Linked DNA regions of Homo sapiens: regions 2, 3 and 4 are each linked to region 1. The links are contacts of gene promoters, found by promoter capture Hi-C in blood cells and fetal thymus (Javierre and others, 2016). All regions are on one chromosome and are shown on one strand. Each heading gives the region's core, a stretch centred on a gene start or on the middle of the fragment in contact. The rest is flanking DNA. Distances are from core to core; before and after follow the strand shown.

What was found. The method cuts DNA at HindIII sites, captures the fragments that hold promoters and counts their contacts. A CHiCAGO score of 5 or more calls a contact.
Region 2: a contact is called between a fragment that was not itself captured here and the fragment with the promoter of UBE2V1 in region 1, in 1 of 17 cell types (monocytes). The highest score is 5.5, in monocytes.
Region 3: a fragment that was not itself captured here is called in contact with the fragment with the promoter of UBE2V1 in region 1 in 3 of 17 cell types (total CD8 T cells, M0 macrophages and total CD4 T cells); the score reaches 5.9 in total CD8 T cells.
Region 4: a contact is called between a fragment that was not itself captured here and the fragment with the promoter of UBE2V1 in region 1, in 3 of 17 cell types (monocytes, neutrophils and naive CD8 T cells). The highest score is 6.9, in monocytes.

What each region holds. Positions count from the first base shown.
Region 1 is chr20:50,111,892-50,114,591 of GRCh38, reverse strand. UBE2V1 (ubiquitin conjugating enzyme E2 V1) reads left to right here and starts at 1,442. Exons shown (of 4, transcript NM_001032288.3): 1 at 1,442-1,485. The coding sequence starts at 1,464. The region is part of intron 5 of PEDS1-UBE2V1 (PEDS1-UBE2V1 readthrough); the gene reads left to right. RefSeq lists enhancers at 523-1,090, 1,095-1,204 and a silencer at 1,375-1,914. The HindIII fragment of the contact is 8,664 bases long and covers 1-2,700 here.
Region 2 is chr20:50,548,918-50,551,888 of GRCh38, reverse strand. All of the region lies in intron 1 of PTPN1 (protein tyrosine phosphatase non-receptor type 1), which reads right to left. Among named protein-coding and RNA genes, the nearest start is that of MIR645, 35 kb to the left of the region's middle. The HindIII fragment of the contact is 919 bases long and covers 1,238-2,156 here.
Region 3 is chr20:50,462,011-50,464,818 of GRCh38, reverse strand. No RefSeq gene overlaps it. Among named protein-coding and RNA genes, the nearest start is that of PTPN1, 47 kb to the left of the region's middle. The HindIII fragment of the contact is 1,375 bases long and covers 741-2,115 here.
Region 4 is chr20:50,494,410-50,497,320 of GRCh38, reverse strand. No RefSeq gene overlaps it. Among named protein-coding and RNA genes, the nearest start is that of PTPN1, 15 kb to the left of the region's middle. The HindIII fragment of the contact is 8,989 bases long and covers 1-2,911 here.

The sequences.
Region 1 (2,700 bases), core at 193-2,692:
TTATAATAAGTCCCCTTTTAATCTGATGTGTGTCCTCATTAGGTGATAATTCTATGGTCGCTCAACTTGTAAAGTTTGTATTTTATCCAGAGGGAATGGGGAGCCACTGAAGGCTTTAGCTGGAGGGTGTTTTGAGCAGATGTTGGTCTATATGGAGAATGGGCCATAGGGGAGAGAATGGAAGCTGCTGGGGTCTTCCAAGTGGGAGATAAAGGCAGCTTGCCCTGAGTGGAGAAGTGAACGGAGTGGAGAGATGCAGAGTAGGCACTGCTATCAGACAAAGGTGATGAATTGGATGTGCTGGGTGAGGGCTTCCAGCTTCCTTGTCCCTCTATGTTTAGAGTCCTGGTCCTTCTGCCAGTATTTTGCTCTGTGACCTTAAGCCAGTCCCTTCACCTCTCTCAGCCTCAGTGTCTACATCCATATAAGGGCTTCTCAGACAATTTATAATAAAGGAGGAGTACCTTCTTGGGTTTATTTATTTGCAAAAATATTTCCCAAGGGCCTTTGCACAAGCTGTTCCCTCTACCTCCTCATTGTTACGGTCTCTGCTGAAATATGACCACCTTAGGAGGCCCTTCCTGACCATCCTCTGCTGCTCTTGTCTTGGTTTATCTCTACCCTATCAGAATTATAGTTTCCTGTTTATTTACTTGCTGTCTACGACTAGAATGTAAGTCCCTGAAAGCAGGGATTTGCTTCTTCAGAGATGTCTATCCATCCCCAGCGCCTAGCACAGTGTCTGGTACATAGTAGGTGCTTAATGTTTGTTTGTTTGGTTGAATGAATGAATGAACGAATGAATGAATGAATGAATGAATGAATTGGGTAGATGGTTAGCAAATGCTTTCCCTGCCACCTTAATGCCCCTAAATCATTTAGCTGCACCCACTCCAAGCCTTCTCTGGCCGGGGAGCATCAATCCTAGGAGCCAGATCATCTGACCTGGAGGGTGATGATTCAAAAAATTTGAACCTGGAGGTTAAAATTCTGCCTGTCTCTGCCACTTAACAGCTGAGTTTAGATAAATCGCTTGATCTCTCTCGGCTGCATTTTTCACATTAATTCTGACCTTGCGGAGATGTGGTGAGGATCTAGATAGGAACTAGACAGGAAAAAGCCCCAAGCGAATTCGGCGCTTTTGTTTGAAGCTATATTTTCTTTTTCTTTCACAATCGCGCCTTCCCAAGCCTAGTCACCCCTGCCCTTCTCACTAAGCACATCACAACCTCCCTCGCACCCGATGTGTGGGGACTTGCAGGTTGCTGGGCCCTCGAGCACGCAGATATTTCCTTTCTCTAAAAGGGAAGGAAAAGAGCCTTCCAGGCCACGGGTCGTGCAGGTCTCCGGGGCGGGCGTCAGCGGCGGCGTATGTGCGTGCGCGCGCGCCTGCGCATCAGGGCCGGGGGACGGGTAAGGGGGGGGTGAAGAAGGGGCCGGCCTTCAAGCAAGAGCGACGCAAGATGGCAGCCACCACGGGCTCGGGTGAGCGGGGGCGCCGGGCCCGGCCGGCCGAGGGGGCATGGGCTTGGGCCGGGGGCCGGGGACCCTCAAAGCCTCCTGCAGCGGAGCCAGGGTCCCCGCGCCGCCTCTGTCTGCTGGGCTCCGCGGCAGCCACCGGCGCGGCCTGACCGGGGGAGGAGGAGCAGGCGGTGGCCGGAAGCACGGGCGGGGGGCTGAGGGGCCTGTGGGCGGCGCGGCGAGGCCCTGAGGCTCCCCCGGGAGGCGTGAGGGCCCTCTGTGCTGTCTGGGGGAGCCGGAGTGGGCGAGGAGCGAGCTCCGAGGCACTCCTGAGGATACCGGGGCTGGCGACTCTTAAGGGGCGATCTAGAGGTCCCCTAGAGGAGGCGCCCCACAGCGGATGGAAGTCCCATACTGGGTGCCAGGGGTGCGGCTGAGAGGGGCCTTGGGATGTCTGGAGGGGACATCAGAGAAGCCCTTCAGGCTGGATGGAAGAAACGGGATCCTGAGGGGGTGACTTGAGAGGATCCCCTATCGGTTGAGGGAACGGCTCCGGCGTTAGTTTTAGAGATGGGGTTAGCTGAGGAAATAGCTATGTTGACTAGAAAGGAGGAGCCTTGGAGCAGCTGCTTTTGGGGAGAATGAAGGGGGTCTCCGCATGATAAGTGAGAGGAGGGAAAAGGATTCAGATGCCAGAGGGACCTAATAGCGGTGATAGTGAAATGACCCCATCATTACCAGTCTCCTGTTCGAGGATACAGATGGATTGCTTCAAGTTAGGTTTCAGGGGACAAGGTCCGAGTGGGGCAGTTGGTGGAAGCCTCTGATATTGGATGAGGGAGAACAGATGAATTGGGAGCCCCGAGGATGTCTCTTTGGGAGTGGGGATTCAACTGAGGGAAGCCCCTGAAATGAGGGAGTGGAAAAGGTCGGGTTCCGGAGATGTTTCCTGTAAAGGAGAAAAGTCTCCTCTTTTTGAATTGAGTGAGGGAAGCATATCCTAGAAGTGTCTCTTCTGTGGAGACGCTCACTCTCATCGACTCCTTTAATAATTGGGACAGATATGTGGGTTCAGCTCAGAAGTTCCCCACTGGCTGATGGGAGTAGGGAGGTGAATAGATGAAATGGGAACTCTTGGGTGAGGCTGCACCCTCAGGTGCCTGGCAGTGAAGTTGGCCAAGGAGGTTCTCTCAGATGGGGTGAAAATGGGTTACCTCTCTGATGGAGGAAGCAAACAGG
Region 2 (2,971 bases), core at 448-2,947, 440 kb before region 1:
CTGCTGGGTAAACTGATGAGCCAAACCAAAAGGGAATAATAAACTTGCCATGAAACAGATTCCCAGAAGAGTCCCCTGAACAAAAACACTAAAGATGTCAGGAGTCATTCAGTGTGTGCCTCAGCATTTCAGGGCTGGATCACACTAAATTAGAAATTTTACCAATGGGAAATAGTATCAACAGGTAACAAACAGGTTCTTTACGGATCTCTCCTTCCCCCAGTCCACACCTCAGTGGTTTTTTAAGAGCCTCCTTTCTCTTAGTGTAGATTTCAGAAATGTGATAGAATAAAACGCCACACATCATAGATGTCAAATGTGTACGGCTCTCCCAGAGTGCACGCCTGATCATGTGCTCCTGAAGCAGGCTTGGGTGTGCCCAAAGCTTACAGGTAAATGGTTTCCATTTCACTGTATCATTTTACATAGGCATCAGGCACACAAAGTGATCTGAATCATTTCTGTGGTAAACCATTGTCATGAGAGAAAAAAGCAAGTCCTTCCAAAGTTATGATTTAGCTAGGCTAGGAAGATTCACAAGCACTTGATCAAGTTTAAACAAAGCATCTGCTGAGCTGGAGATTTTAAAAGGGGCAAGGAGGGGCAGAAACCTTCTTCACCTGAATAGTTTTTATAGCTCTTCCTCATTTCCCATCCTTCCCCACTCATTTAAGAAGGTAACAGATGATCTCCCAATGAACACAAAGGGGTAACATGCTTACAAAACTCTGGTAACAGAATGAATTAGAGCCTGGAGTTAATTAATTTTTATATTTATTCAGGAAAGCTCATTATCCATTATTCAGACACCTCCCAAACTCAATTAGGCAAAAAGTCAAACTTGGGTGAAAAGCTGGCAATATTTGATTAGAGATTTCTATTTCTCCTGAAAACACACAGGCATAAAAGCCAGTTTATCCTTGCGGAAATATTTCCATGTTTATATTAAGCACTTCATCAAGTGAAACATCACAATCTGGGTTTAACACCCTTCTCCTCGGTCCACAACTGGGTGAATGTCTCTTACGGGCTCCATGGTAAAATGCATTACTCATTTTAAAGCTATCTGCTAAGTGAAGAAGTAGAGGCAGCAACCCATTAGCAGCCAGGAGTCTGAGAAGAAGTGCTTTGGACTCTCATCTTAGTGTCCCCTCCTAACACAGGCCCAGGCCCAGGGTAGGCACTCAACATAATTTTGTTAACTGAATCAATGGATACTTCAAAGGTTCCCAAAGCTTGAAGTGTCCTTAACAATATACCAACATTCTTTATAGAACAGAAGTGCTCCTGAAAGGGAATGTGTATAAGCAAATATCTGATCCAATCCTATTTTCTCAATTACTTGTTACAAAATGGAAATTACTGAAATCACATTTATTTTATTTATTTGCAGTTGACCCACACAGCCTTCTGACCAAACAGTGTCAAAATAGTTACTAAAACATGGATTCAAAGCAGAAAGAGTAATTTTTGAAAGTGATCTCTGTTTTAAAAGTCTGAAGGAATAAAAAATTCCAAGGGTACCTTTTACTCACTGGAACTTCAGGGAACTACAAAGTCCCTTAGCACCCATCACATCTTCTAAGATCTCCCGGAACCTCCATTCTACAAATGGTTATCTAATTTGATTGTTCGGGTTGTTACCTGGTTCTTCAGGGAAGCTACTGGCTTTCAGAAATGTACAGACAGAGCTAGATTGAAGGGAAATGCAGAAATATAGTAAAGGCAATGATTTAAAATGCAGTAAGTGAACACACAGTGTACATTTCCTGGAACTCTTGCAGTAGTCGCTGAATAGGGAGATATATATAGAAGGGGGGGTGGGGTAACTAGCATAAAATTTTAGAAACCAGATCTTCAAAGTAATGCATGTTGAACAAATTTTGTTAATCACAAATCTCATTATAAATGAGAAAATTTCTATGTAACAAAGTATACTCCGAGGAATATACAAATCATCAGAGGTTCAATGTCTTCCAGGTCAAAAGCAATGCTATATATGAAAGTTAATGAAACGATATAATTTACTACAAAAACCTTAGGAAAATATTTTTATTATATTTATGTGTACATTCATATAAGCAATATGAAATAAATCATATACTTAATATGAAATGCTAAGATAAACTACACTGTTTAATAATAAAGAAAAAGCTTAAAATTAAGCTAATCAGTACCAAGTCTGTTTTGGTTTAAATTTTAAAATGACTATGTACTGAATAAGAACACATACTAAAAAGCAAACCAGAATCTTTTGGTTTGGTGATAGTTGAATGAAAGACAGGGGTTGAGGGGAGGAAGGGGCAAAACTGGTCAGCATTGAAAAGGCAGCAGGATACCAAGTAACTGTCCCTGCCACAGCTGGAGGAAGCGTTGGGTCCGCTTGTACAGTGGTCTGGGGCAAGGTTAATAGATAATGGAGCTACAAGTCACTAACAGAACAATTATGTGCACTTGGAAAACTACGTGGAAAAAAAACAATCAACTGCTTTACAAACTCCCCACAAATCAAGGGATAAGGGCAGGAATGAGGGCATGAAAAATGCTTCGTGAAACTGGCATGGAGACCTTCTGGTGGAGAGGGTGGGGCTGCTTTCACACTCTGATGTACACCCACTGCTCCAAATATAAAACAATGGTCAATTAAATTTAGAGAAAACCATAAAGGCACAGCTAGGCTCAAAAACAGCATGAGAATAAAAACAAAACAAAAGGCTCCCAACTCAAAATGACCTAGAAGCAAGGTATCAAACACAGAAGACAACTAGTTAGTTCTACAAATGATAACCAACAAATCAACTAGAACAAAAATCCATTCCATATGCAATTTATTGTATAGCTTGTTGGGGACTTTAAAAATAAACATACTTGGGCCAAGCGTGGTGGCTCATGCCTGTAATCCCAGCACTTTGGGAGGCCAAGGCGGGCGGATCACTTCAGGTCACAAGTTCAAGACCAGCCTGGCCAACAG
Region 3 (2,808 bases), core at 179-2,678, 350 kb before region 1:
ACCAAGATCTCCCCACGAATCCCACTGGTATTTGTTCTATACTTTGGAAGACCCAGCTTCAGAATCGCTCTAGGGGAGTAGAGAAGGAAACTCAGTGTCTGAGGGAGGGATGATAATGACAGCCACCTGTTAGGGGTGCCGCTATGTTGCACAGTTTCATGAATGGGGCCCCTGAAGTTGTGCAACATGGCGGTCCTGGAGAGAATCTCTGCGGGTTACCTCATTTAATTCCCACCTCCGCTCTGCCAGGTAGGCAGGATTACCTCCATTTCGCAGCTGAAAAAACTCAGATTCAGGGAAGTTCAGTGCCTGGCTCAGGACCGCAGCTGGAGGGGTCGGGGAGAGGCTCTAACCCTCCGGCTTGAAGGTGTAGTTTCAGACTTGGCCACTTGGTGTCACTCTCTCCAAACTGTCGGAAGAACCTCTGAGCTGGCCGGTTTGTGGGGGACTCCGGGCCCAGCTAGTTGCACACTGATCCCCAGTCCGGCAAAGCGGCCCCTCCTGTCCTCCCTCCGCCCTGTCACCCTTGCGGGGTGCAGAATTTCTGCCTGTTCCCTGTTTGAACTGGGTCTCTGAGTACGCCTGAGCCAAGTACTTCACAGGCATGATCTCACTCGAGCCTGCCAGCAGCAATGTGGTCTCAGACTACAGATGAGGAAACTGAGGCCAACGGCGTAGGAGCAACTTGCCCAGCTAGTAAGTGGCAGTCAGAGTTTGAACTCAGGTCTGAGTTAGAAGCTTGGCGTTTTGATGCCCAGAAAGTGCATGGTAGGACAGTTGTATTAATTCTCGATTTTTCATAGAATATATTTCCAACCCACTCCTCAGTCTCTGTAATGTCCTTGGCAATGAAAATAATCTGCCTGTTTAGAGAAGTGTATGTGTTTTTGGTCTTTTCTTTTTTTCATGTAGAAGTTAGTTTTCCCCTGACTACCAAGAGAACACTGAGGTGTTTACTTACTTAATTTTTAAAAAAATTATCTGAATATACCTTGATAATTATTTATTTTATTTTATTTTATTTTATTTTAAGACGGAGTCTCGCTCTGTTGCCCAGGCTGGAGTGCAGTGGTGTGATCTGGGCTCACTGTAACCTCTGCCTCCCAGGTTCAAGTGATTCTCCTGCCTCAGCCTTCTGAGTAGCTGGGACTACAGGTGAGCACCACCACACCCAGCTAATTTTTTTTTTTTTTTGTATTTTTAGTAAAGACGCGGTTTCACTATGTTGCCCAGGCTGGTCTCAAACTCCTGGGCTCAAATGATCCTCCTGCCTCGGCCTCCTAGAGTGCTAGGATTTACAGGCATGGGCCACCACACCCGGCTGGTAATTATTTTTTTAAATTAGAAAATCTAAGTAAAAAGAACAAAATATAGCCAGAAGTGGTGGTGCATGCCTGTGGTCCCAGCTACTTGGGAGGCTGAAGCTGGAGGATCACTTGAGCCTAGAAGATCAAGGCTGCAGGGTGCTATGATTATGCCACTGTACTCTAGCCTAGGTGACAAAGTGAGACCCTGTCTCTGTATTTTTTAAAAAGAACAGACCGGGCACAGTGGCTCACACCTGTAATCCTAGCACTTTGGGAAGCTGAAACAGAGGGATCGTTTGAGCCCAGGAGTTCAAAACCAGCTTGGGCAACTTAGTGAGACTTCGTCTTTACAAAAAAAAATTTAATTAAAAATAAAAAATCAGCCAGGCATGGTGGCAAGTGCCTATAGTCCCAGCCACTCAGGAGGCTAAGCTGGGAGGATCACTTAAGCCCAGGAGGCAGAGGTTTCAATGAGTGGTGATCGCATCACTGCACTCCAGCCTGGGTGATAGAGCAAGATCTTGTCTCAAAATAAATAATTGATTAGAGAAATAATAAAAAAAGAACAAAATAAAAGTCGCTTCTAATTCACATCAGCCACCCAGAGATAAGTGCTATTGACACGTTGGAGCATATCCTTCAAGGCATTTTTCTCTCTGTCATCTATCAATGCATTAAAAAGTTCCATTTTTAAAAACTAACAAGGGATTGTATTCATATGCAAAAATTCAAAAGATACCAAAAGATTTACAGTGGGTCTTCTCCCTCTAATCCTTAACCCCCATCCCCAGCTTTAAAACTCCAAGCTTCCCTCCCCAGAATCCATTCTGGTTATCATTTCTTGGGGATCATTACAGAGACATCCAGAACACAGATAAGCAAATATGTGCGTGGATTCCTGTACTCATTTCTCTAAATAGAAGCACACCACACACCCTGTTCTGCACTGGGATTTTGTTTTTTTCAACTTAGCAATGTACCTTGGCAGATCTTTCCAGATCAGCACTAGGAGAGCATTCTTTGCACATTCCATTGTCTGAATATAATAATTTATCTAACAAGTTTTCTGGTGATAGTCACGGAGGTATTTCCAGGGTTTTTCTGCAACAAACAATGCTGCAATTAGTATCCCTTTCACAGAAGTCTTTCCATGTATTCAGAGCTATTTCTGATGGATACATTCTTAGCAACTGAATCGCCCAGTCATAGGGCAGGTGCGTTTAAACATTTTGACGCTGGTTGTCTAAATGCTCTCTAAGGTTGTACCTACCAATCGTCATTTGCACCGGCAACCTCCGTGAGCTCTGGTTTCCCCACGTCCTAGCCAAGGCCAAGTATGATTGGACTTCTTGATCTTGGCCTTGCCGATAGGGGAAAAAGGTGTTCACCATAGTTCTAATCTACATATTCATTGTTTATATGTTAGATTGGACATTTAAAAAATACGTTCAAAGACTGTTTATATTTCTTTTCTGGTGGCAAAGCATTCAAATTGTTAGTC
Region 4 (2,911 bases), core at 173-2,672, 380 kb before region 1:
GAAGTCAAGATCTTTTGGAAACTACCTGTATTAACTTATCATCACTGCCTGCTAAATAAGATTCTCTCTGGTCACTCCTTACTTCTTCATTTCAGGAGCGAAATTGGTATCTGGTGGGGTGAAAGCAGAACCTCGGCCTTCATGCAACTCTGTGTTTGGGTATGGAATGATCCTCTCATATTGGTCTTAGCAATCTGCACGTGTGTCTCTCTCAGCCCTCACAGTCGTGGATCCTGTAGTATTCATCTTGCTATGTCCCCAGGGCCTAGCCCAGGACCTGGGCGAGAAGAGGTGCTCCCTGAATGCTTGTCAAATAAATATATGAAGAATTAATCATCACATCCCATTTTATCACCTCCCTAAACAGAGTCATTTTCCCTCCCCACTGCCTTCCTGCATTCCTCTAGGGCAAGATGGTTCTTGCAGAGAGAGAGAGAGAGAGAGTGAGAATGAAGAAGAGGTTAACCCAATTGTCATTTCCAAAGCAGCTGTTAATCCCTGCCTTCTTAAATTACCCTTATTGTACCCACTTTCAGCCTCAATGTTGGGTCAGCACTGAGGCAACTCTGACTTTGGTCTCCTTTAAAAAAAAGGAAAAAGAAGGAAGGAGGGAGAGAAGGAAACTCTGCCTGTATTCAAACCATTTCAAGAAACATGGTTGAACTAAAGAGAGAAGCAATTTAAAGTGGGTGTTTTCACACGCAGAGCTGGAAGTTCTAGCATTGGAGGTAGGACATTTTTGTTGTTCTTATTTCTTTTTCTTATCACAAAAGGAATACTCATTTAATGAAGAAAACTTGAAAAGTGCATATAAAAGAGACACAACTTACTTTTTTTTTTTTTTTTTAAACGGAGTTTCACTCTTGCTACCCAGGCTGGAGTGCAATGGAGCGATCTTGGCTCACCGCAACCTCTGCCTCCCAGGTTCAAGCAATTCTCCTGCCTCAGCCTCCCTAGCAGCTGGGATTACAGGCACGCACCACCATGCCTGGATAATTTTGTATTTTTAGTAGAGACAGGGTTTCTCCATGTTGGTCAGGCTGGTCTCGAAATCCCGACCTCAGATGATCTGCCTGTCTCGGCCTCGCAAAGTGCTGGGATTACAGGCGTGAGCCACTGCGCCTGGCCCACAACTTACTTTTAACTCTTACTACCTGTGCTGGTCACTGCTCACGTGTTGTGTGTGTGTTTTTTGTTTTGTTTTGTTTTTGTTTGAGACGGAGTCTCACTCTGTCCCTCAGGCTGGAGTGCAGTGGTGCGATCTCGGCTCACTGCAAGCTCTGCCTCACGGGTTCACGCCATTCTCCTGCCTCAGCCTACCGAGTAGCTGGGACTACAGGCGCCCGCCACCATGCCCGGCTAATTTTTTTTTTGTATTTTTAGTAGAGACGGGGTTTCGCCGTGTTAGCCAGGACGGTCTCGATCTCCTGACCTTGTGATCTGCCCACCTCGGCCTCCCAAAGTGCTGGGATGACAGGCGTGAGCCACCGCGCCTGGCCACTGCTCACATTTTGGTAAGCACATTTTCACAAGTTCTTAGGTCTCTCTGTCACTTCATCTCGATCTTCATCCTCCCTTTATTCTAACCCCTCCCTTTCACTCTGTCTTTCTGAGGTCTCTGTCTCTCTCTTTCTCTTTTTATCAATTTTTTTTTTTTTTTTTTTTTTGGTGACAGAGTCTCACTCTGTTGCCCAGGCTGGAGTGGCACAATCTTGGCTCTTTGCAAGCTCTGTTTCCTGGGATCAAGTGATTCTCCTGCCTCAGCCTCCCAAGTAGCTGGGATTACAGGCATGTGCCACTACGCCCAGCTAACTTTTTGTATTTTTAGTAGAGACAGGGTTCACCATGTTGGCCAGGCTGGTCTTGAACTCCTGACCTCAGGTGATTCGCCCGCTCAGCCTCCCAAAGTGCGAAAGAGATAAATACCCCAGCTCCTTGCTTCTCAGGTATGGCAATGTGGAGGCATGGCCCTTACATGGGTGGGTTTGAGCCCCACTGGCCCACATGCTCATTCATGTCCCTTCCCAGACATTATTTGAAGACATTATTTGAAGACATCAGGAGCATTTTTACTGTTTAAGCCACTTTGGATTGGCTTGCTACTTGCAGTTGAGAGCATGCTAACTGGTACATGGTCTTTGTCTTCTGTCTCTATCTTCCTGTAGCCCTATGGGTCTGAAGTTCAGCCATATTCCTTCCCCAGAGCCCTAGTTGCCTTGGAAGTCAAGATCTTTTAGAAGCCACCTGCATCAACTTTTCACCACTGTCCTAAATCAGAAACTTCGTGGTCACTTCCCCACTCCTCACCTGCTGCCTCCAAGGATCTCCTCAGGAATAAATTACTTGCATTTAAATCCTTGTCTCAGAGTTGGCTTCTGGAGGAACTCAGATGAAGATGGCAGACTTATCACTTTTCCTTTTGTCTAACTAAAAGGCTTCAAATAGAAATCAATTATTCAACTGATTATGAATCCAAAAATTTCTGGCATATTTGAAAGAGCAGATCATCCCGACTTTTAGTCCTCAAGATATCAAAAATATTGCATCTCCATCTAGCACCTCCCCCCCCATTACACACCTGCTTTGTGCTAGGCACTTTACATGTGCAACAGGATGATGTTAGGGGTGCTCTGAGTCTCTTGGCCTAAGTTCAAAGGTCATTCAGCAGTTGGGGTCAGCCACCTTCCTTCACGGCTCGCTGTGGAGCCATTTCAGCAGAATGGCAGCCCATCCTTATGCCCATTCTACCGTGGGCGTCAAGGAGAAGGGGAAAGAGAGCACGTCTTGCTTCTCCTGCTCCCCCTACCCATTGTCCCAGCTCCAAGCCACTAGAATCATGAGTCTGGCTTGAACTGGGTGACATGGGGCCAGGGGATCTAAAAGAACTTTGAATCAGATCTGAGAATGAAGT